Linked DNA regions of Homo sapiens: regions 2, 3, 4, 5 and 6 are each linked to region 1. The links are contacts of gene promoters, found by promoter capture Hi-C in blood cells and fetal thymus (Javierre and others, 2016). All regions are on one chromosome and are shown on one strand. Each heading gives the region's core, a stretch centred on a gene start or on the middle of the fragment in contact. The rest is flanking DNA. Distances are from core to core; before and after follow the strand shown.

What was found. Contacts are between HindIII fragments. The CHiCAGO score rates a contact against its expected background, and 5 or more counts as called.
Region 2: a contact is called between a fragment that was not itself captured here and the fragment with the promoter of CYB5R4 in region 1, in 1 of 17 cell types (monocytes). The highest score is 5.8, in monocytes.
Region 3: a fragment that was not itself captured here is called in contact with the fragment with the promoter of CYB5R4 in region 1 in 1 of 17 cell types (megakaryocytes); the score reaches 7.3 in megakaryocytes.
Region 4: a fragment that was not itself captured here is called in contact with the fragment with the promoter of CYB5R4 in region 1 in 9 of 17 cell types (non-activated CD4 T cells, megakaryocytes, naive CD4 T cells and 6 more); the score reaches 7.1 in non-activated CD4 T cells.
Region 5: a contact is called between a fragment that was not itself captured here and the fragment with the promoter of CYB5R4 in region 1, in 1 of 17 cell types (M2 macrophages). The highest score is 6.3, in M2 macrophages.
Region 6: a fragment that was not itself captured here is called in contact with the fragment with the promoter of CYB5R4 in region 1 in 1 of 17 cell types (monocytes); the score reaches 6.4 in monocytes.

Annotation. Positions count from the first base shown.
Region 1 is chr6:83,857,915-83,861,674 of GRCh38, reverse strand. It overlaps CYB5R4 (cytochrome b5 reductase 4), which reads right to left and starts at 1,986. Exons shown (of 16, transcript NM_016230.4): 1 at 1,818-1,986. The coding sequence starts at 1,892. All of the region lies in intron 3 of RIPPLY2-CYB5R4 (RIPPLY2-CYB5R4 readthrough), which reads right to left. RefSeq lists a silencer at 1,866-1,915. The HindIII fragment of the contact is 3,476 bases long and covers 781-3,760 here.
Region 2 is chr6:83,420,999-83,424,758 of GRCh38, reverse strand. All of the region lies in intron 1 of ME1 (malic enzyme 1), which reads left to right. Among named protein-coding and RNA genes, the nearest start is that of ME1, 8.2 kb to the left of the region's middle. The HindIII fragment of the contact is 3,920 bases long and covers 1-3,758 here.
Region 3 is chr6:84,268,179-84,271,938 of GRCh38, reverse strand. No RefSeq gene overlaps it. Among named protein-coding and RNA genes, the nearest start is that of CEP162, 42 kb to the right of the region's middle. The HindIII fragment of the contact is 404 bases long and covers 1,568-1,971 here.
Region 4 is chr6:84,199,254-84,203,013 of GRCh38, reverse strand. CEP162 (centrosomal protein 162) reads left to right here. Exons shown (of 27, transcript NM_014895.4): 8 at 1,247-1,277; 9 at 2,109-2,225. Among named protein-coding and RNA genes, the nearest start is that of CEP162, 27 kb to the left of the region's middle. The HindIII fragment of the contact is 2,056 bases long and covers 608-2,663 here.
Region 5 is chr6:84,145,567-84,149,326 of GRCh38, reverse strand. CEP162 (centrosomal protein 162) reads left to right here. Exons shown (of 27, transcript NM_014895.4): 25 at 2,542-2,640. It also overlaps a transcript of MRAP2 not described here. Among named protein-coding and RNA genes, the nearest start is that of CEP162, 80 kb to the left of the region's middle. The HindIII fragment of the contact is 6,999 bases long and covers 1-3,760 here.
Region 6 is chr6:83,585,554-83,589,313 of GRCh38, reverse strand. The region is part of intron 22 of SNAP91 (synaptosome associated protein 91); the gene reads left to right. Among named protein-coding and RNA genes, the nearest start is that of PRSS35, 75 kb to the right of the region's middle. The HindIII fragment of the contact is 461 bases long and covers 1,724-2,184 here.

The sequences.
Region 1 (3,760 bases), core at 737-3,236:
CCATCCTATGGCAAGGCACACTCATACACACCCAATATTCACACAGACTGGGACCATTTAGACACACCAATTAACCTAACTTGCATATCTTTGGGCTGTAGCAGGAAACCAGAGTACCCAGAGAAAACCCACGCAGACACAGAGCATGCAAACTCCAAAGACAGTGGCCCTGGCCAAAACGAATTTTTTTTCTCATCAATATTATAACTAAATGCTGTTGAATGAAACAACACTATTTGAGAACCTTTTGTATAATACACGACCTTCCCAACTTGGTTCTATTTTCTCAACCTCTACCCATTTCATCCAAACCTGACTCAGTTTTTACATTCTCAGCATCATCTTGTTTCACAAAGAAAAGAGGAAGAAGACTGGAGTCTGACTTTTCCTTAGAATTGCACAATAATCTTATTTTGTTCTCTTTTTGGACCAAAAACTCACCTTTGCCATCGCCCCCTGTGTGACTTTTTGTCTTTGCTTCTAAGTTTTCTCCTTTAAATGGATGCTAAGAACACAGTTGGTATTTTTAACGAAGAAGGGCAGTAACTCATATTCTAATTCAGAGATTCTTTCTGGAAAGACTGTTATTCAGTCAAGTATTTAGCTTCAAGAAATAGGTCAAAAACCAATGAGAAAAATATACATGATTGGATGGCTAGATGATTGATATATGAATCAGTAAATGAAATTTCACAGCAGAACCACAACACAAGCCTACGCAATTTAGGGCAATATTTCTTAGCCAGTTTCCTTTTCTGCGAAATAGAGACAATAAAAGCTTTCACTTCAAAGGATAATTGTGAAAATTAAAGTTAATACATGCAAAGCACTGAGAATATACACGGCCACCCGTAAGTACTTAAGAAATCTCTGGAAAGCTAATGAAAACCACAGATCCCTGAACCTATATTCATTCTGAACTAGAATCAGAACGCCAGGTCTAAGTGGAGAAAAATAAGAAAATCGATAAGGGTTCCAAACGATGCTAAGACTCAAGAGTTAACCGAGTGGCCCAAGTTAAGTGGAAGTGTCACAAACGAAAGATAAAGATATGGTTACAGAATGAGGAACTAACAAATAGGAACAAACAACATTCGCAAAAGAACAAAGAACACAATTTTTATTGAATTCTGCAAATATAAAATATATCTGTACAGTATTCCACCTGTTGCTAACAGCAACTGTGCTCAACAAGAACTCAAGAGTATTATTATATTTGCTTCGAAGTTAGCAAGTGATACTAGTAGAAAAGGCAATGACAAAACAATCAGGTACCAGAGGAAGAAAGAAAGGCAGTATGTCTTGGATAGTGTCTGTAAACCTGACCTAGCTCCCCAACTCCAGAAGTCCCCATCCTTGCACGGACGGTCACTGTCGCCACTGCCAAGCCTTTCCCTCCTGCGAGGGAACCCACATCGAGTGATGTGGTACAACTCCTTCAGGCAGTGAAGAACAAAAGACCAGGGAGAAGATGAGGTTGAGGGAAGGCGGCTAATACCGAGAGCCTATAATACCGCAAACACAGTGCCTGGCTCTGTCATATAAATTTAAATCGCGGGAAAGGACTTGGAGGAAGGGAACGGATAGAGCGGGATAAAGGACCAGAAAGAAGAGGGACTGCTAGGGGAAAGGGAGGAGGTAAGGAGAGTTTAGGGACTGTAGACAAAGTGGGATCAGAAAGAGGTTGCAGGCAAGGACAGCAGGGAACGACAGCTTAGAGAGGGGTGCAGGAGCTGGGAGTTGGGGCGGAAGAAGAGAACACACTGCCAGAGCTCGAAACGCAGCGAGGGGAGAGACTCACGGAGCCACCCGCTTACCTTGCTACGCCCCCCGGAGGCGACACGCTGCTGCGACCTGGGGGCCGGGAAAGACTGGGAAGGGACGTTCAGCATCTTCAAACCCCGGCCCCGGGCCCTGCCCGGGGATCGCCGCCAGACGGGACAGCACCTCCAGCTCCGGCTCTGTGGCCGGGCAGAGGCCAAGCCCCCGACCCACTTCCGGGGTCGCCAGGGGTGAGGCGCATTCTGACGCAGCACGTCCGCGGAGGGCGGAGCCAACGGGACGGAGGGAGGGCCGGCAGGGAGGAAGTACGCATGCTCAGCTAGTTCCGCATCCCGAACTTCAGCACCGGAGCAAGGTGACAGCTATTTCGTGGAAAGATTAGAGAGTGAAGCTGTTCCTTAGCCTTGGTGCTGACCGAATGTGGGAACAAATTCTTAGTCCTGTTAACCCGGAACAGCAATGTCTGTTCATTGTTAAGCAGTACCATCACACTACTTGAAATATGGACTAAAACACACTACTTGAAATATGGACTAAAACGAATTTTAGTTTCTCTGAAATTCTTTCCTGTAAGGCACTAGGCTGTAATGCAAAGAGCATCTCACACCTTTAAGAGCAAAAATATCAAATGTCAACAGCCACTACTGTGGGGTAAGAAGAAAACCTCACCTTTAATCATCCTTAAACTTCACCTTTAAGCATGCTGAGGGCTAATGAATGCGCGAAAGACGTTAGTAAAGTCACCTTCTGCTCTATTCACCCACTCACAAATTCTCCCTCCTTATGTAACTTCCTGTCTTCACTGGGAATTGTGTACTGATGCAGCTCACCTCCAGCTGTGGTGATGAAGTAACGTTTAAAAGTCAGATTTGGTTTGCATGCCATCCCTGCACTTAATGACTGAGCTGTCTTATGCAAGTTACTTTAGTATCTCAAAGTCTCATTTTCCCCATCTGCATAATGGGTTTATTAAAGATTAAAGGATCATGTGTAAACTACATACTGCAGTGCCTGATTAATATTAGGTACTGAATAAGTGGCAGTGGCTGTTTGTGCTATTCCAACATATTAATGGGAAAAGGACCAACACTGTGCAGGTAAACACCAGGCTCTAATGCTCAAAATCTGATGGTTTTTGTTTGTTTGATTGATTGTTTTGTGTGTCCCTTGGGGAACACATAGATCTTGAGAGTAGAATCCAATAAGGGAGAAAGTTTTCAGGAGAAGAAACATAGTTCTAAATAATCCTCCCCATCCTCCTTTAATTACTAATTTTTCCTAACTCTGAACATATTGTCATGCTTTAAACTTTCTCTGTTTAACTACTTAGTTCTTAAAGTGCCTAAAAAATCAAGGTTATGTTTGCAGAATCAGAAGAAAAAGTGTGTGACTATATGTGGCCATTCAAATACAAGCATTCAAATAAGGTAGCCACCTATGACATTCACCTCTATCCATTTTTATTTGCAATTGAAATGCTTATTATGAGAAGACTGAATTTGAGCTAAAAGAACCTCATGACTATAATTAACTGTATTACTTTGACTTTGCAAATTGCTTCTGTGTTCTCTCTCATTAAATGATGACATATTCTTCTAGAGTCTACACAAGAAAAACTAATCACTGAGATTTATTTCACTTCTCGTGAGAAAACTTTTACATAAGAATATCAAAAGCAGAGAACCAGAGCAAGGAAAAGTTAATATTGTTGAAGAATGTTCCATGCTTTCCAAATTTCTTAGCTCCCCTTTGTACAGAAATGGAAGATGCTATCAACTTCTGGCCTTTAGACTCCACTTTTTTAGACTCCATATCAATCACTCAAATTTAAACGTTTTGTTTTAATTCTAGGGATCCCTCAATGTAGTACATTAAGTATTAAACATCCATACTATTTTACTACTGGATTTAAGGACTGAAGAGGAGTATTAAAATATGAGTTACTTTGCTCATCATTTATTTAAAATATCTATAATTT
Region 2 (3,760 bases), core at 549-3,048, 440 kb after region 1:
CCCAGTGTGTGACGCTTTGTTGTGGCAGCCCTAGCAAACTAATGATATACTTCTGTAATTGAAGCAAAATTTCATAATACAGCACTTTCCCTTGCTTTGTTTAGTAGACATTTTCTGGACTTTGACAGGAACATGTAGGTGAGAAGCAGTAATGATCTAATCAGTCAGGTTTGCTTGTAGCCATTGCCAATTTTTGACAATCTCTGTCTTTTGATTTTTGTGTTTAGGCCATTTACATTTAATGTAATTGTTGATACACAGAGAGATAAACAGATTTCTATCATATCATAGGTGTCTGTTCCCTTATTTTTCATTCCTCTATTTCTCCTTTCCAACCTAATTTTTAATTACTTAAATATTTTTATTATTCCATTTTGATTTATTCTGTGAGTTTTTGACAATATTTCTTTGTATAGCTTGTTTTTAGTACTTGGTCTGGTGATTATGATACACATACCGAACTTTTCACAGTCAACTTAAAGTTAAAATTTCACCACTTCAATTGAAATATAGAGATCTTACCATTATATAGATCTCATTACCTTCCTCTATTTATGTTGTAGTTATATGTATTATATCCTCTTATATCTCTATATATGTATTACACAAATATTTTTAAAATAGTAATTTAATGTAATGTTTATACCTTTTTTTTTTTTTTTGAGACAGGGTCTTGCTCTGTTATCCAGGCTGGAGTGCAATGGCGTGATCACAGCTCACTGCAGCCTTGACCTCCCAGACTCAGTCCGTCCTCTTGAGTAGCTGGAACTTCAGGTGCACACCATCATGCCTAGCTAATTTTTGTATTTTTTTGTAGAGATGGCATTTTGCCATGTTCCCCAGACTGGTCTGAAACTCCTGGGCTCAAGAAATCCTCCCACTGTGGCCTTCCAAAGTGCTGGTATTATAGGTGTGGCCTGTAACTTTTATTTATTTTTATTTTATTTATTTTTCATTTTTTTTTGAGACAGAATCTTGCTTTGTCATCCAGGCAGGAGGGCAGTGGTAACATGGCTCACTGCAGCCTTGACCTCAAGGCTCAAGCAATCCTCCCACCTTAGCTTCCTGAGCATCTGGGACTACAGGCATGTGCTACCACTCCTGGCTAATTTTCATATTTTTTGTAGAAACACAATTTCATCATGTTACCCCATCTAGTGTCAAACTCCTGAGCTCAAGGTGTCTGCCTACCTCAGCCTCCCAAAGTGCTGGGATTACAGATTTGAGCCACTGTGCCTGGCCCTAACTTTTGTTTTTAACTGTCACACATATTTTAAAGAGTTTAAGAGGGAAAGGATAATCTATTAGAGTTATCCAGGTAGATACTATTTCTGTTACTCTGTTTCATTCCCCATGTTCTGTGTTTGTTTTGGGGTATCATTTCTCTTCCATTTAAAGAATGTCCTCTAACATTTTTTTAAAGCAGGTTTGCTGGAAACTAATTGTCTTAGTTTTTCTTCCTCTGAGAATGTCTATTTTATCTTCATTTGTGAAGGATATTTTCAATAGTTATATAATAATGAGTTGACAGTTCTTTCCCTTTAAGACCTAAAAAAAAAAAAGCCATTTCTCTTCCTCCCGCCCTTTCTTTTTCCTGATGAGAAATCTGCAGTCATTCAAGTTGATATATGTTTGTAATACATCAGTTTTCTCTGGATGTTTTAATGGTATTTTATTTTTCACTTTCAGAATCTTAAATATAATGTTTCTGGGTTTGGAGGTTTTGGGGTTTATCTTCTTGGGGTTTTCTGAGCTTCCTGATTCTGTAAGTATATGTCTTTTATCAAATTTGATATGTTTTCAGCCATTATTTTCTCCAAATATTTTTTTCTTTCTCCTCTCTTTCTGGGACTCTGATGATACAAATGTTAGGCCTTTTGATATTGTCCTGAGGCTCTGAGCCTCAGGTGACTATATGATAGTATCAAAAGGCCTACTTTTTTAAGGACTTGTTTTCTCTTTATTTTCCAAACTGATTTGTTTCTAATGATTCAGCTTTAAGTTCACTGATGCTTTCTACTCTCATCTCAATTCTGTTCTTCAGCCCATCCAATGAATATTTTATTATAATTATTGTATTTTTAAGTTCTAAAATTTCCATTTGGTATAGCTTTTATTTCTTGTCCAATACTTTCTTTCCATTTATTTAGAAAGACTTTGCCCTTATGTTCTTAGGCATGGTTATAATAACTGATTGTAAGTCTTTGTACATTGTACAGAAATTTCAAGGTCTGACACCTCAGGATTGGTGTTTGCTTATTAGTCTTTTATTTTCCAAGTTAACGTTTTCCTGTTTCTATGTTGAGTGATTTTTTAATCTATTCTGGACATTTGCATATTATGAGATTCTAGCTGTCAGTTGTATCTTAAGGGGAATACTGTTCTTCTTTGCTTTAGTGGTCACTCAACCTGGTTAGGTGATTTTGCAAGTTGGACCCACCTGTGGCCTGCGGTTCCGATATCAATTTGGTTTTCAAAGTCTACTCAGTAGTACTGTTTGTATTTGTCCATTATGTGTACCGCCCAGTGGATAGTGTGGGATCTGTGCAGTAGTCTATGCTATAGTTTACTTCTCAAAGCCTTTGGTATGCTGTTTAAGGTCAAATCTATGCACGTTTAGCTCAAAAGTGAGTGTAGAAGTTAATATACAACTTTATGGGATTGCTCTCATGAGTTCCCTTCTTTCTGTGATCTCTGATATTTTTTGTTTCCATGAGGACCCCCTTTCCAGTCCTCATGGCCGGAAAACTGGGCTTTTGTTTTCCTGCCCTGCTGTGTACTTCCTCCAGATTTATTTGCATCTGATGCCATACGATTGGAAGACAGAGAGAAAGTTGCAACAGGCATTTGACCTACGATCTTGAGACCAGCTCTATATCCTCTGGTAAAAAGAATGATTCCCTTACCTTAGAATTTTAGGCATCTGTCGTGGTTATTGCTTCTGCCATCCCCGTGGGATTACCTGGGAGTTGGGACTAGAGAGGTGGAAAAGAATATTGGATGTTCTTCCTTCTCTGACCTTTAAGCACCCCCTTTCTGATTCTTGGACCAGAAAGATAAGGCTTCTCTTGGCAGTCTTTGTACACAATCAATTGCACTTCCAGCTTTTCTGCTGCTTTTGAGTCAAGGCCAGTTGATTACAGCAGAGAGAAAAAAAAGCCAGGCCATATTGGAGGAAAAAATGCCAGGAAACTTAATCTGGTTTTGTCGTACTTTAGATTCTAATCTTCTTCCTTAGTTCTTCTGCTATCATGTATTTTTCAGTCTTCAAATAGCTGCTCAACGCATTCTATACAAGGATTATTGTTGGATTTAGTGGGAGAGACAAGGTATACTATAGCTACCACTTTGCACAGAACCAGACCCTCAGGTTGTTATTTTTAAGGTATGAATGTGTGAAACTCAGTCTAACTTGATTTTAAGTTCGGAGAAGAAAAATACCAGGCAATTGGTTCCCAAATGTACACTCAACATTTTTTCCCTTTTTACTGGGTACATAGTTGCTATACCAATCAATATTAATAATAAAGATTATTGTGTGGAAATGGTTCATGTAAGACAAAAACTCTATACATAATTTATAAAATGTCTGTGTTCTAAGGATTTAGAAAGAAGTTTTGCCTTTTTGATATCTACATACTTCATTTGTGCCCCTTTTTGTGCTGTGAAGGAGAAGAGCAAGTTCGACGTTCAGAATTTCTTTGGGGTTCCCTCTCTTGGCTTTGGGCCCCCCCTCCCTGTCTGCATACAGGGAAGCTTC
Region 3 (3,760 bases), core at 520-3,019, 410 kb before region 1:
ATTAGGCACAGTGCTGGGCATTTTCTATGTGGTATCCTATTTAGTGTTCAAAACACCCCTGTGAAATGACTGCAAATTTTCCCACTTCTCAGATAATGAAATAAAAAGGTAAAGAATGTGTCTAAGTAAGGAAGTAGCAGAGTCAGAATTTGAGCCCATGTCTACCTGGACTGCAGAGCCCGTGTTTGCTTCTGTCCACCGAGCCCATTTATTATCTCCCTCACTTTTCCCTCAGAGCATCAAATTTGAAATGTGGTATATGTATTCATCAGTATCTCTATAATGTTATGGATACTTTCAGGTCAGAAACTTGGTCTCAAATATCTTTGCATCCCAGAGTAGCTGCTGCCATATCTTGAATAGTAGAAACATACATAATGTGATATTAATATGAAAGTGCTCCATCAGGCATGACTCACAAACTTCTATCTTGTTTCCAGATGCAACTTAACTCATCAGTGAACAGCCATGGAATCATGTATCCACACACACATTAATGTAAAGAACCAGATATAAAATTCTCACCAGTGTAATTCTCTAAAGAAATTCTGAGCAGAGCAGAAACTAAAGAAATTGGCCTTTGGTGTTTGCATCTGGCAACATTTGAGAAGGATAGGATACTGAGTGTCAGCAAATTCTGAAAATGCTTTGTTTATTTGTTTAGATATTCAAAGTGAGCCATTTGCCAAGTTTGCAGACCCAAGTACAAGACTAAGACAAAAACAAGTGTTTCTTCTCAGCCAATAACAGCATCTAATACCATCTGGAAACCTACACCAGTTAAGAAAGAAACAAATATGCCTTTTTTCTTTCCTTCTAAGTCCTCAAAGCTTGTAAATCTGGGATCTGTTGGGTAGAGAAAAGAGAGTTCCAAAAATGGGGACCCTCCATAAAACTCAACCCCCCTGGCAAACAAGATTTCAGATCATGGAGACAAACAGAGATCATGTTTATTCTCATCTCAGTGGCTCAGGAATAAAATAAAGGTTGCTTCTATCTCTGTCCACATTGAAAGAACTCCATTGTGAGCCAATTTAGTGTCCAGTTCAACCCTGTAAATTACCATGATATTTTTATTGATACCATGAAAAAATACCCTTGCTTCTCTATTGTCACAAAAGCATGTTGTTAAAACACTTAAAATGCCTTGGCACACTTTAAAAGTGCTTTATACAAAAGAGACATGAAATTAATGGCCCATTTCAGTCAACACGTCCCTCACAATGCTTTCTTTCCCCTTCCTCAAAGCCACAGAATAAACCAAAGTGGGTCCAAATAAGACCTCTGAACATTTCTCTGATGGTAATAACATCTGGGTAGTAAGGAATGGGAATCAGTGTTACAATCTCCCTTCATACTCTAATGTACACATGAACAGCATTAAGCTAGGTTTACCATGAGATTTCACTTTTCACTGAAGTTTTAATTGCCAACCCTTACTATGTCATTTCTGTGAGGGAGTTTGGTAGTTTACTCCACATTTTCTTGCTTCCCAAATCTTTCTCTTGGTGTGCTCCTACCTACTTCTTTCCCTGCCTCCTCTTTTCATGCCTCCATTCAGAAAGCTTCAGATCCAGGGTAACTGCTCACCATTCCATCAGCATCATTTTTTTAACCTATATTATCCTAACCACACAGCAGTTTCCAGCCATCAAGCATATAATCTTAGTTGCACATTAGCCTGGAAATGGACTTTCCCCCACTCTGGTTATCTTATCCACAACATGTGCAAATATTACCTCATTCATCCTTGTGCTGGTTCCAGAGATTAGCCCCAAAACTGTCATGATAAATGTACAATTTTAAAAATAGTCAGTTTCCTCAAACTTCGTCAGTCGTTTTAAATTTTATTCCCTATGATGACGTGGCCACTAGAGCTTGTCATTTTTCTACCGTTTCATTTCCAAACATTGAGGCCAAATACGATGTCATATGTTCTAGTAGCATAGCACTTATCTAAAGGAAAAAGCTTACCCAGGGCTTTTAAGAATGTTTTTATTTGTTATAATAACACACAGACTGCAAGTTGAAAAACATATTTTTAAGGAAACCAATGAGACAGGCTTTAACCTTTAACCATGAAAAAGACTCCTTAAATATTTCAAAAGAAAGATAAATTTTATTCATCAGACAGATTAAGCATTGATTGGCAGAGGTTTTTTCATCAGTATTCAATACTGACAAAATCATTTCATCTATTAGTCAAGCAGCAATTTTGTCACTTTGTTAGAAGCATCATGCTGGTATTATGAAAAGTGTTAAAAAGTAAAAAATTTTGTTCCTATCCAAATAAATTTAACATTTATTCTTTTTTTAAAAAAGAATATAAATAACATTAAGTGTCTCCTATTTTCTAACACCAGTGATGTCATATTTAAATAGCATAAATGGAAGATGATATAATGGATTTGAAAATAGAAGACCAGAGCATGGACTTAGTGAAGTGACACAGGGCAAATCTCTAATTTTTCCTAATTTGTTAGAAGTAATCTGCTCTCCCTCAAAGTGCCTGGGGACCATCAAACAAAAAATTCATCTGAAAATGCATTGAAACCATAAAGTACTATACAAATGTATGTTATCATCTCTGCCAGTTTTTAGTCCCCACTCTTAATTTTCAAAATCATCAGGGTTAGTGCTCTGTACTCCATTGGCACACATTACATCCTTGTTTTCCAGCATTGACCACATTGCATTATAATTATATCTATATGACTATTCCTTCTATAATATACTTTGGATGTGTGTCCCCACCCAAAACTCATGTTGAAATGTAATCCCCATTGTTGGAAGTGGGGCTTGGTGGGAGCTAATTGGATCATGGGGGCAGAGTTCTCATGAATAATTTAGCACCATCCACATGTTATTGTTCTCACCATAGTGAGTTCTTCCGAGATCTGGTTGTTTTAAAGTGTGTGGCGTCTTCCCCTTGGCTGTCTTGCTCCCGCTCTGACTATGTGATGTGCCTGTTGCCACTTCACCCTCCACCATGATTGTAAGTTTCCTGAGGCCTCCCCAGAAGCTGAGCAGATGCCAACATCATGCTTTCTGTACAGCCTGCAGAACTGTGAGCCAACTAAACCTATTTTCTTTATAAATTACCCAGTCTCAGGTATTTCTTTATAGTAATGTAAAAATGGCCTAATACATATTAGTACCCTGCAAGCTTCTGCAATTCAATTGATCTGTATATCACCAGAGCCTAAGATGTCCTGGTATGCATGTCTCTTGAGTGATTTACTTGCTAAGTGAATATTGATATAAGGTCCCTATTTTTCATTAAATGATTTTCCATTTTCATTTCTGCCATTAAATACGAAAGTTTGTCTTTGTTTCATGACTATACTGTCTACAATGAATGATGTTAATTTTAGTACTGCTTCCCAAAACTTCCACTACTGTTACTTTACTGTGGAATTTCCAAAGAGAGACTAAGTTGGTCAGTAAAAAAGCCAACACAAGCAAGAAATTTCTTTGAAGTCTTAGGAATTAATCTTTAAAATTTATGTAAATTGTGAGTGAAAAAATCTATAACATACCTGAATTTGTCTTAATAAAACTAACATTTTCTTCTACATATTTGAGTAGAATTCATGCCCCAGGAAAATGGACCACATTTGTCCATACAAAGACCCAATAGTTCTCAATATTGGTTGCACAAAAGTCACATTTAAAAATCTATATTAAGAGTTTTAGTTCAAGACTAGCCTAGGCAACATAGTGAGACCCCGTTGTCTACCAAAAAAAAAGAAAAATTAGC
Region 4 (3,760 bases), core at 386-2,885, 340 kb before region 1:
TGTGTGTTAGGACTAGATGTTTTTAACATGAATGAAAACGTGGACTCAAAAGAAACACTTTTCAGGTGTCTATAAATCTTCTTATTTTCAAGTTTACTTAGTATTTGGTCCTGGGGTGTCTACATGTCACTCAGTTTTGAGGAAAAAATGAGATGACCTTAGAAATAACATAGAAATTAATGTGATTGATGAATATCCTTAGAAATTTAATGAGATTTATACTTGGAATATGGCAATTACAATATTTTATTGAAAAATGAATAGGTCACCAGCCTGGCCAACATGATGAAACCCCTTCTCTACTAAAAATACAAAAAATTAGCCGGGCATGGTTGGCACATGCCTGTAGTCCCAGCTGCTCGGGAGGCTGAGGCAGGAGAATTGCTCGAACCCCAGGGGCAGAGGTTGCAGTGAGCCAAGATTGAGCCACTGCACTCCAGCCTGGGCAACAGAGCGCAACCCTGTCTCAAAAAAAAAAAAAAAAAAAAAAAAAAAGAAAGAAAGAAAAGAAAAGAAAAATGAATAGGTCAGTACAAGGCATAATAGTGTGGTATATTTAGAAAGTGTACCATATGCATAAAAAGGTATCAGCCTAACTGTGGAAGCTTCAGAGCACTGTCTGGGTAAGAATCAAAATAGGAAGGGATTAAAGCTCTGTTATTGGAAGGTCCCACAAACTGCCTACCCAAGTAGGAGGTATAGGTGATATTAATAGGAAAAGTTATTCTAAGGGAACCTCTAATATTGAAGAACTTCAGCTGTCTAGCTGTTTGGTGGCCTGTCTTTCTGAAAGTTGTATCTTTTGAAACATAGATGAAATAATGAGTACAAGATTTAGTCATTAATTTTGAACAGTAAGGGAAAATAGACTGGTAATGCTATAATTGCAGAACTCTTGTGTGAAATAGCTCTGTTATCTTGACATTCAAAAAAACCAGAGAATTCTTGAGCAAGGTAGATGAGCAAATGGAACTTAAATACTTTAAGCAAGAATTTTTAAGGTCTAAATTAATTTTGGTAATTGCCAAGTTTTAGAAGAGAATTTTAGACATTCTGTCAGAGCTAGTCTTGAAGAATTATTGATAAATGAGAGTCAGTGGTGAAAGAAGCCTAGAAAACACAGTTCCTGATCGTTTCAATGTGGAATAAAAAGCCCTGGATTTCAGATTTTGCTATTATTTGCATTGTGGTAATTTTACATAATTTTGGTTTCAAAACATATCATCATTTTCCTTTTTTAATTTAGGAAGAAGAAAAAACTGGCATGCTTGCTAATGGTAAATATTATTTATATTCATGTTTTAGTTGGCAAAAAATTAGTCTGTTCAGAATTTCATCTCAGTAATTCTGAATGAGTCACTATCTGTGTTTGTTTTTAAATATTTCTAAGGCATTGAAGTTCCTAGCTTTTCTCAATAATGTGTTTCTATCTTGAATCCATTCTGTTATATTTAAGATTTTTTTTGTTATTTTTCTTATGCCCTTTGCCTTCCATGTGTACATGTATACTAGGCTGTTCATAAGCATAGATATGTATGTTGATGTTAGCCTACTGTCTTCTACATCGGAAGAAGATCATATTTGTTATATACATACACACACACACACATAGATAAAACATGCTTGTAACATATATACATATATAAGTTTATAGATTCTTTGTATATAAGCATTTATCTTTGTTTTAATATGCATTGCATTTTGTTTGTTTGTTTGTTTGTTTGTTTGTTGTTTGTGAGACAGACTCTCGCTCTGTTGCCCAGGCTGGAGTGCAATGGTGTAATCTTGGCTCACTGCAAGCTCCACCTCCCAGGTTCTCACTATTCTCCTGCCTCAGCTTCCTGAGTAGCTGGAACTACAGGCGCCTGCCACCACGCCTGGCTAATTTTTTGTATTTTTAATAGAGACGGGGTTTCACCGTGTTAGCCAGGATGGTCTCGATCTCCTGACCTCGTGATCTGCCCGCCTTGGCCTCCCAAAGTGCTGGGATTACAGGCGTGAGCCACCGCGCCCGGCCTGCATTGCATATGTTTAAAATAATTGTATTAGATCAACAGAACCACTGAGTTTATCTACATTCCTTATATTTTTCTTTTATATTCTTCCAGTTGTGCTGCTTGATTCATTAGACTCTGTTGCAGAGGTCAATCTTGATGAACAAGATAAAATAACACCTAAGCCAAGGTGCCTACCAGAAATGACTGAGAATGAAATGACAGGAACAGGTAAAAATGTTTAGAAACCTGACTGTTCTCTAAATATGGAATGCTTTATGACTAATATGACTACATTTCTAAGGAAATATATATATAATAACTATATTGATAATGAAAACTTTAAATCTGACATTTTTCTACCATAATAATAATTTAAATAATTGGAACTTGCTGATGGTGACACAATGCTAGTAGGCCAAGTAAAGTGAGGTTTTAAATAAATATTTGTTAATAAATGAATAAATGCTGTTGATAATAGTGTAGCACTGTAGGTGAACGTTAACTAATTTTCTATGCCTCTCCAGAGTATTCAGTTAAATCTGCCATGTGTAGGAGAAATGGGACTTTGGTCTTATTGTGCTTTTCCATAGTTCTTTCTCTAGGAAAAAGCTACACCCCATCCCCAAATTCTGAAATACCTGAGACCAACTAGACTTTCCTAAAGCTTATAAAGGTCTTTGAGATAATGCCTTTTCAAAATTTTTTAAAGCAGTGGAATGCACATCTTCAGTTGAAATCTATTTTTTTGTTTTGTTTTGTTTTGTTTTGAGATGGAGTCTTGCTCTGTCACCCTGGCTGGAGTGCAGTGGCGCTACCTTGGCTCACTGCCAGCTCCATCTCCCAGGTTCATGCAATTCTGTCTCAGCCTCCCAAGTAGCTGGGACTACAGGCGCTTGCCACCACACCAGGCTAATTTTTTTGTATTTTTTTAGTAGAGACAAGGTTTCACCGTGTTAGCCAGGATGATCTCAATCTCCTGATCTTGTGATCCGCCCGCCTCAGCCTCCCAAAGTGCTGGGATTGCAGGCGTGAGCCACCACACCCGGCCCAGTTGAAATCTTATGTAGAACTCTCTCATAGGTAAAAATGATACTTTATCAGGATAAATATTTAAACTTATGTTTGTTACATTTGTTCATAAAATAGATGAGGACAGTAATGGTCTTTTGGAATTTTTGAAATTAGAAACTATTGAGATTTGTTATGGTCTCATATCACCATCAGCCGTCCAATGTGTTTGTGTTTTTTGTTTTTGTTGAATAGTATAAAAATATTCTTATTTTATCACATAAATAGCTGCAAATGGGAACTTTTTAATCAGCTTGCTTTGCAGTCTATGGATACTGGTTAACTAAACCAATTCAGACACTTGATAAAAAAGAGTAATAGAAATCGCTAACCAACTCAGAAATCACTAACCGTCAGCAGCTTGCATTTCATTCTTTTTTTTTTTTTTTTGCTTTTTACTTTTTAATTGATATATAGTATACCTATAGAAAAGTCTGTGGTATCACAATAGTGCAACTCAATGAATTTTGAAATACTGAGCACACCCATGTAATCAGCAACCAGATAAAAAACAAGAGGACCTAAACCACAATGTCCATCACATCTCTTATTTCTAGTCACTGTCTTTCCAAGAGTCACCACTATTTTGACTTGTTACATCCACTTTCATTTTAAAATATAAAGGTAAAAAAATTACAACTATAAGACATAATTTTCCCATCGAGACACATTACTCACTTGTTGCCCAACTGAGT
Region 5 (3,760 bases), core at 799-3,298, 290 kb before region 1:
AAATAAATATTTTTACAGTTTGTCCCTATACTTCTCAAATAAGTCTCTAAATTTGTCACAGGTGGTGAGGTATATGTCTAACATGATTAGGACCCTAGTACTTGAACTTGGATGTTGAACCGAGTCCCCAAGTCCCAGCTGACAGTTATCCTTAGGCATTCTTCCTGCCCCATGACCTTTTATTAACAAATAATGATTCAGGTCAATAGACAATCAGGCACTGGAATAAAATAATGAAAAGAGAGATACACAGCTCTTGCTCTGATGGAGCATAGTCTTCTAAGAATTATTATAGGGAATGCTGCCAACTCATCAGCATTTCCTCAAATAAATGTGTCTTCCTTTTTGAAAAATAGGTATATCTACTTAGAATATCTATGAGCATTACCATGTGGCCTGTCTTCTGTACTGTTTGTCACTTATAAAAATAGCATTAAAATAGGACTTTTATCTACAATCTACTTTCAAATGGTATATCCAAGAAAAAGAAAAAGGTGGCAAATCAGCCACCTTTTGGGTTATCAAGTTGAAAAATATATGAATGTTTATTGTGTTCATCTTGTCTGTAGGCTTCAATTTTAAGAAAGAAGGTCAGGGAGAAAAACATCAAGAAAGAATTATCTCACCAAGTGTAATTATTTAATACCATCTTAATTAAAAATAAATTCCTCAATTCGGGAAGTTTGAATATGGACTGGCTATTAGATACTAAGAAATTACTATAAATTTTCTTAGGTATAAAATGTTATGGTTTTGTGAGAAATGCCCTTATTCTAAAGAGATGTATGTTGAAGCATCTGAAGGTTTTGTTTCTTTGAGACAGTCTCCTTCTGTCACCCAGGCTGTCTCAGCTCACTGCAACCTCTGCCTCCCAGGTTCAAGCGATTCTTCTGTCTCAGCCTTCCAAGTAGCTGGGATTACAGGTGCACGCCACCATGCCTGACTAATTTTTATATTTTTGGTAGAGATGGGGTTTCACCATGTTGGCCAGGTTGGTCTCGAACTTCTGACCTCAAGTGATCCACCCACTTTGACCTCCCAAAGTGGCATTTGAAGTATTTAGGGGCAAAATGTAATGAAGTCTGTAACTTAACTTCAGATCGCTGAGAAAAAAAAGGACTATTTGACTACGTTAATGAAAAATACTTAAAGTGCCTTTCGTAAGTAACAATCCATACAGCCTTACAGAGAACCTCTCTGGCCTTATCCTCCATAGGAATAGGGTGTCAGAGGGCAACTATAAGCATTCTATCAAGTGATTTTGTATTAAGGAATAGTCTGGAAGAGGTAGGAAAAGTAGTATCATGATGCCATAGTGCCATAAATGTTATTTTCCCAGCGTTATAAATGTAATATTGTAAAATTGAGTTAAAGAGAAATCAGCATAGTCTGATCATTAAAAATACAGCATTAGAGATAAGATAAATTTTTCCCAATTTCTCTTAGTTTCTTGATGGAAGTATCTGTTCATATATTTCAGTTTACCTAAAGATATGAGACTGACATTTATTTCACAGATATTATGAGGCTTATGTTATATTTAAGCCATAGTTCTTAAATAAAAACTATCATACTTAACCACAGAGTATAAAGATAATATTGTCTACCTTTTTCCAAATGTGTAGACTTTATAGAGCTTTATTTTAAAAGGACTTTTTCTAGTCATGAAAAATGTTCATATTTATTTTCCCCCCCTTTTATTGATATATAATGATTTAGATATTTATAGGATACATGTGAGTGTTTGCTACATGCAAAGAATGTGTAATAATCAAGTCAGGGTAATTGGGATTTCTGTCACCTTGAGTGTTCATCATTTTTATGTCTTGGTATCACTTCAAACTCTCTCTTCTAGTTACCGTGAAATACACATAATATTGTTGCCAAGTACAGTCACCCTGGTCTGCTATTAAACATTAGAACTTATTTCATCTATCTAACTGTATGTATGTTTGTACCCATAACCAACCTCTCTTCATCCTTCCCAACCCCCCACTCCCATCTCTGGTATCTATTGTTCTATTCTCTGTGTTCATGAGATCAAGTTTTTTAGCTCTCATACATGAGTGAGAACATGCAGTATTTTTCTGTGCCTAGCTTACTTCACTTAACATAATGACCTTCAGTTCCATCCATTTAACTGCGTATGACATTATTTCCCTCTTATTTAAGGCTGAATTGTATTCCATTGGGTATATATATCACATTTCTTTTCGTCTGTTGATGGGAACTTAGATTGATTCCATATCTTTGCTATTGTGAATAGTGCTGCAATAAACATGCAAGTGCCAGGTGTCCGTTTGATATACAAATTTCTTTTCCTTTGGATAGATACCCAGTAGTGGGATTGCTAGATAATACGGTAATTCTATTTTTAGTTTTTTGAGAAATCTCTATAATTTTTTTCCATAGTAGCTGTGCTTACTTACATTCCCACCAACAGTATATAAGAGTTCCCTTTTGTGAGTTGGCTTTCTTATATTTTTCAGATAGTGTTCAAGGAGGAGCTTTATTAACTCAGCACTTCTAACAATTTCCTAGGTACTTATAAGACATTTCCAAAGTCAAGTTAATGAGCTGCAGAGTAAACAAGAGTCTCTCGTAGTTTCTGAAGTTCGAGAAGAAATTCTACAGAAAGAGGTAAGAAATGGCCAAAATATTGGGCTAAAATAAGTTTTTCTTAGGCATTTCAATCATATTCATATTTATAAATTTTTTACCTAAATGTACAAATAGATATAACCTGAAAGTATCACGTCAAGAAAATATTAGCAGCGTGCTTATGTAAAATCTGCTTTCCCCAGGTGAAGTTCAGATATTAAGTCATTAAGTTGTCTATGTTTTATTTGCTGTTGAGATTTTGTGGGTAGTGGGGAAAATGGGACGGGAGATGTTTGGGTTTTCTGTTTGTTTTCTTCAGGAGACAAAATTGAATAGTGAAGTCCATTTCTGTGTTAAGTAAAGTACTGTCAGGGAGGAAAAATAATTTTTTCCTCAACCCTCATGAGTTTTTAGTTGAGACAGACCCCATAACAAAAGACAGATTAATAAGAGAAAAACAAGTTTATTAATACGTGCAGCACACAATGCAGGAGAAACCACAACACAAAGTAACTCAAAATGGTGGCTTAGAACTCTCCAAGTTGGTAGCTTTGAAGAGATTTGGATTAGAGATTGTGAGATCAGGGATTGGCAAAGGAAGAGGAAAACATAGATTGGAACAAGTGCAGCTGAACAAATTTAAGTACATTGCCCCATATCAAATCATTGTCTTAGTGCTGAGAATAGGTCAATTCAATTAAGCAGTTGTGTCTCATTTCAGGAGATATTGCAGGTGAGCTCTCATCAAAGTTAGGCCTCTATATGGTGATCTAATAAGAGGCATTTCTATGGAAACAAAAGAAAAACAAAAGTTAATGGTAGGAGTAGTCTGTATACTAATTTCTGAATCTAAGAGCAGCTAGTCAAGAGTTCTAGATGTTGGGCTCAAAGCATTTTTTACAGTTTGAGTATGTCTAGTTATAAGACACGCAGCAATAGGCATGAAAATTGTCCGTATATTAGCTGTTGTGGTGACTCTCTGCAGTTTATATCAAGTCATTCAGCTTCAGCTTATTAAGATTTCAGGAAAAGGGCAGTTAAATGTTTTAGTGATTCCAAGGCAGGAGGGTAGGAGAAAAATTTGAAATACTAGTTTGGAGAATTATAGACAGAGATCTAGACCAGATTACATGTAAATAACAAAACCCCAGAGATAAAA
Region 6 (3,760 bases), core at 705-3,204, 270 kb after region 1:
CAAACCACAGCTGGTTACTTGGAGAAATAAACTGCTAGTTTGCCTGGCTTTTATCCAGGCCTAGATATTCTTATATCAGCTTCCAATTGGCTACAGAAACTTTCAAACTCTTACTAAACCAATAAACTTCATACACATTTTGGGGGTTCAGCAATAAGATTTTAACATGCCACAGAAATAGCATAGTTTTAATGGCTATTTGAGGGATCATGACCTTGTTAACTTTAAAATGAGATTAGTGATTACAAACATTTTGCTTTGAAGTTATAATTAAGATTAAAACGGCCCATAAAATCAAATATTCTGGCCTTTCACAGAAGCCTATGAATTCTTTCTTTCTCTCCTGGGTATCCCATCCCCTGCCACAGATCTCAAATGGGAATTTGAAGCCTACCAGACAGTAGCCTGGCAGAGCGGTCAGCCACTGTTGACCACCTCCAGTGCTACACAGCCACATTGTCTACTCCAGGATCCTCCTCCATTGTGGCCTCTCTGTGTCCTCCAAGGCTAGAACCTGAGATATTGTGTTTCTCAAAGAGCCCAGAACACTAGAAACTGGAGCTGAAAGGCCTTTTCCTGTGGGAAAAGGGAGTGTTCCCATCCAATTCCAAGTTAGAAGTCAGTAACAGAGCCAAGAGATTTGACCCTGGGGGATGCAATAAGAATCTAAAAACACATCTAGAACAAGCCTGAAGGGGTTTGTCACCTGCTGCCAGGTGTAACTGCACATACCTGTGCCACAGCTGCACAGCTTGGTATATGGACAGGTCCAGCAGGGGAAGTCTACAAAAAAAGTATGTTAGTTCACTTTACAAAAAATAAAATTATTCAATTGTGTTGTCTATTCTGAAATCTTATTAAAATGGGGTAGAAAAGAGGAGAAAATCATCAATGAAAGTACCCAATGTCATCTACATAGGTCTCATTTACTACACACTTTCCATTTCTTCTACTGCATCTTCTTGTGACTCTTTCAGTGATAGGCAAAGTTATATATTGTGTACACTTTCTTATTTCTCTCTTTTCTATTTAAATAAATTAATATTCAATGTAAATCAGTATAGATGAGTTTAATGTCTCATTTGCTTTCAAAACAGTTCTTGTAATTTAATGTATACATATGTCAGTGCCTGATTTATTTGGCACAATGTGAAATATTATTTCACCTTATATCCTGATATAAGGGGTTGGATGCAGTGTCCCACAATCATAATCCCACCACTTTGGGAGGCCCAGATGGGCAGGATCACTTGAAGTCAGGAGTTTGAGCCAGCCTGGCCAACATGGTGAAACCCTAATCTCTACTGAAAACAAAAAACAAAAATAAGCTAGCATAAGAAATTTTAACTTTTAATTTCCATAGGGCTTAATTTTGGGGGCTAATTTTTCATACTTCCCTGTTTTCTTATAGAAAAATATTTCTCACGCTTGTTCAAGTATCAAAGCATAAGGAAGTCATATTCTCACTAAAGAACATCATGGAATATTAATATAATTCTATCCTGTGAACTAGGAGCAACTTTCCTAGCCAAAAACAAAAAAATAAAAAATGAAAAAAATTCTGCTAATAAACGCAATATAAAACCACAGTCACATTTATATTTGTAACCTAGCTGACAATTGGCTGTTTCTGAGTTTTCACAATTCTCGTACATTTTTATTTAATGCATATTAAGTAGGACAAATATTTGGGGCACTGTGTGTAGTAATTTGCAGTGAAGCTTAGCATTTGTATTATAGTTGTGTCTGTGTTTATTTGGGGGAGGGATCAGCTAAGTCCACAGTCTATTGAAACTAAGAAGATTTTTAAAAAAAAATAAATAAATGAGCCTAGTCATACATAGCAAGCCCACAAATATGATCAGAATCAAAGAGAGAGAAGAGAGAAAAAGATTCTCTAGAATCCTGTGATTGCCTTTAGTAATAAAACTGTTTTGAGAAAGAATGAAAAAGAAAAATAATATGCAGACACTGTCATGGGAGGTTTAGACTGTTCAAAGGGAACCTTGGTCACTGGACTAAGGACTCTTACCCCATGCCTAAGATTAGATTTTTTTGAGTGAATACATTTACATGTGAATCATAAAGATAAGGCAATAAATATATGATATAATTAAATTTTAAAATGATTTTAGAGATTTTAAACTAAACATTAAGAACCATTTTAAAATTGAGGCGAAAGCTTTGTTAAAAATTGGTATCATTTTGAAACTTGAAAACAAAGACTAACTAGATAGTCTTGAAAATGAACCTATCTATCATAAAAACTATTCTTCTTTATTCAAATTCAGTTTTAGAACTGTCAGATAATACCAATTCCAGAATTAAACAGCACTTGAAATATTGCCTTAGTCGTCTTCTACCCCTTGAGTAAAAATTTTAAGGTGTTTGGTGCATGCAGTATAGTGAAATGATAAAAAATTCTGGAGAGGACAACTTCCAAAGAGGCCAGACTAGAAAAATCATTATCAAAATAATGAAGAAAGGAAGGAATAATGGGGGTGGGGGGAAGCAGAGGGGAGAATCCATAACAACAATGAGTAATTCTTTCCAAGCCATTGAGATTACTGGTAGGATACAGATATTATCCATATCTCAGGTAACATCTGAATGAAAACTTGAAAGTTAAGTTTTTAAATAATAAAAGTAAATATTTCATACAGTGAAGAGTAAAGCTGTCAAACTCTGCTCAAAATATACCAACTGAAAATACAGATGTTTGAAAGCTAGAGGCAGACTACTGGATGACAAAGGTAAAAATGGACTGTTAAGGAAGTTAGGTGTGTTGAGGAATATGCCTAACATCTGAGGTTGGCATCGAGCAGGACAACCATGTTTTTCCATCATAGACACAATTTTAGGGTGACTGCACTATAAATCTGTACTAGTATAAGAGAATTTCACATCCTATCTTTAATTGCAAAGACAAGGGACTATATGGTCCAGCCTATGAGGCCCTTTGTAGTTTTGCATTTGTTCTCTTAACCACATTAATTGCTTAAAATGAGCCACAGAAGTCCTTGAACTGAATTTAAAATACAAACATGCCCAGTGTGGCATTAAAAAGTAACAATTTCCTATAAAAGGTAAAAGTCTACAGAGGATCAATTCTATCATCCTGTGTGGAAGTGTCTTTAGCAGTAGTTTTAAAATTGCACTCTTGTGGCCGGGCACGGTGGCTCATGCCTATATAATCCCAGCACTTTGTGAGGCCGAGGCGGGCAGATCACAAGGTCAGGAGATCGAGACCATCCTGGCCAACATGGTGAAACCCCATCTCTACTAAAAATACAAAAATTAGCTGGGTGTAGTGACACACGCTGTAATCCCAGCTACTTGGGAGGCTGAGGCAGGAGAATGGCTTGAACCCAGGAGGCAGAGATTGCAGTGAGCCAAGATGGCGCCATTGCACTCCAGCCTGGTGACAGAGCGAGACTCCATCTCAAAAAAAAAAAAAAAAGAAAGAAAAAAAAATTGTACTCCTGCAACTGAAACAATATGATGTGTTAGATAGACTATGTAGACTATGACAGTCAGACTTGATATATCTGAATCAATAGAACTTCATTAAGAGTGTGGGCTACTCCCCTTTAGAATAACACATTCATAAGACTAATCATCTGTGATTAAAAAGCAGTGTATCAACAGATGGTTGAGTACCTGAAAACAGTTGGCTCTTCAGTTATAGTGTAGGACAGTTCAAATATGATTACAGGATGCACAAAAGCCTTACTCTGTTTCCAATTCCATTCCATAGAGC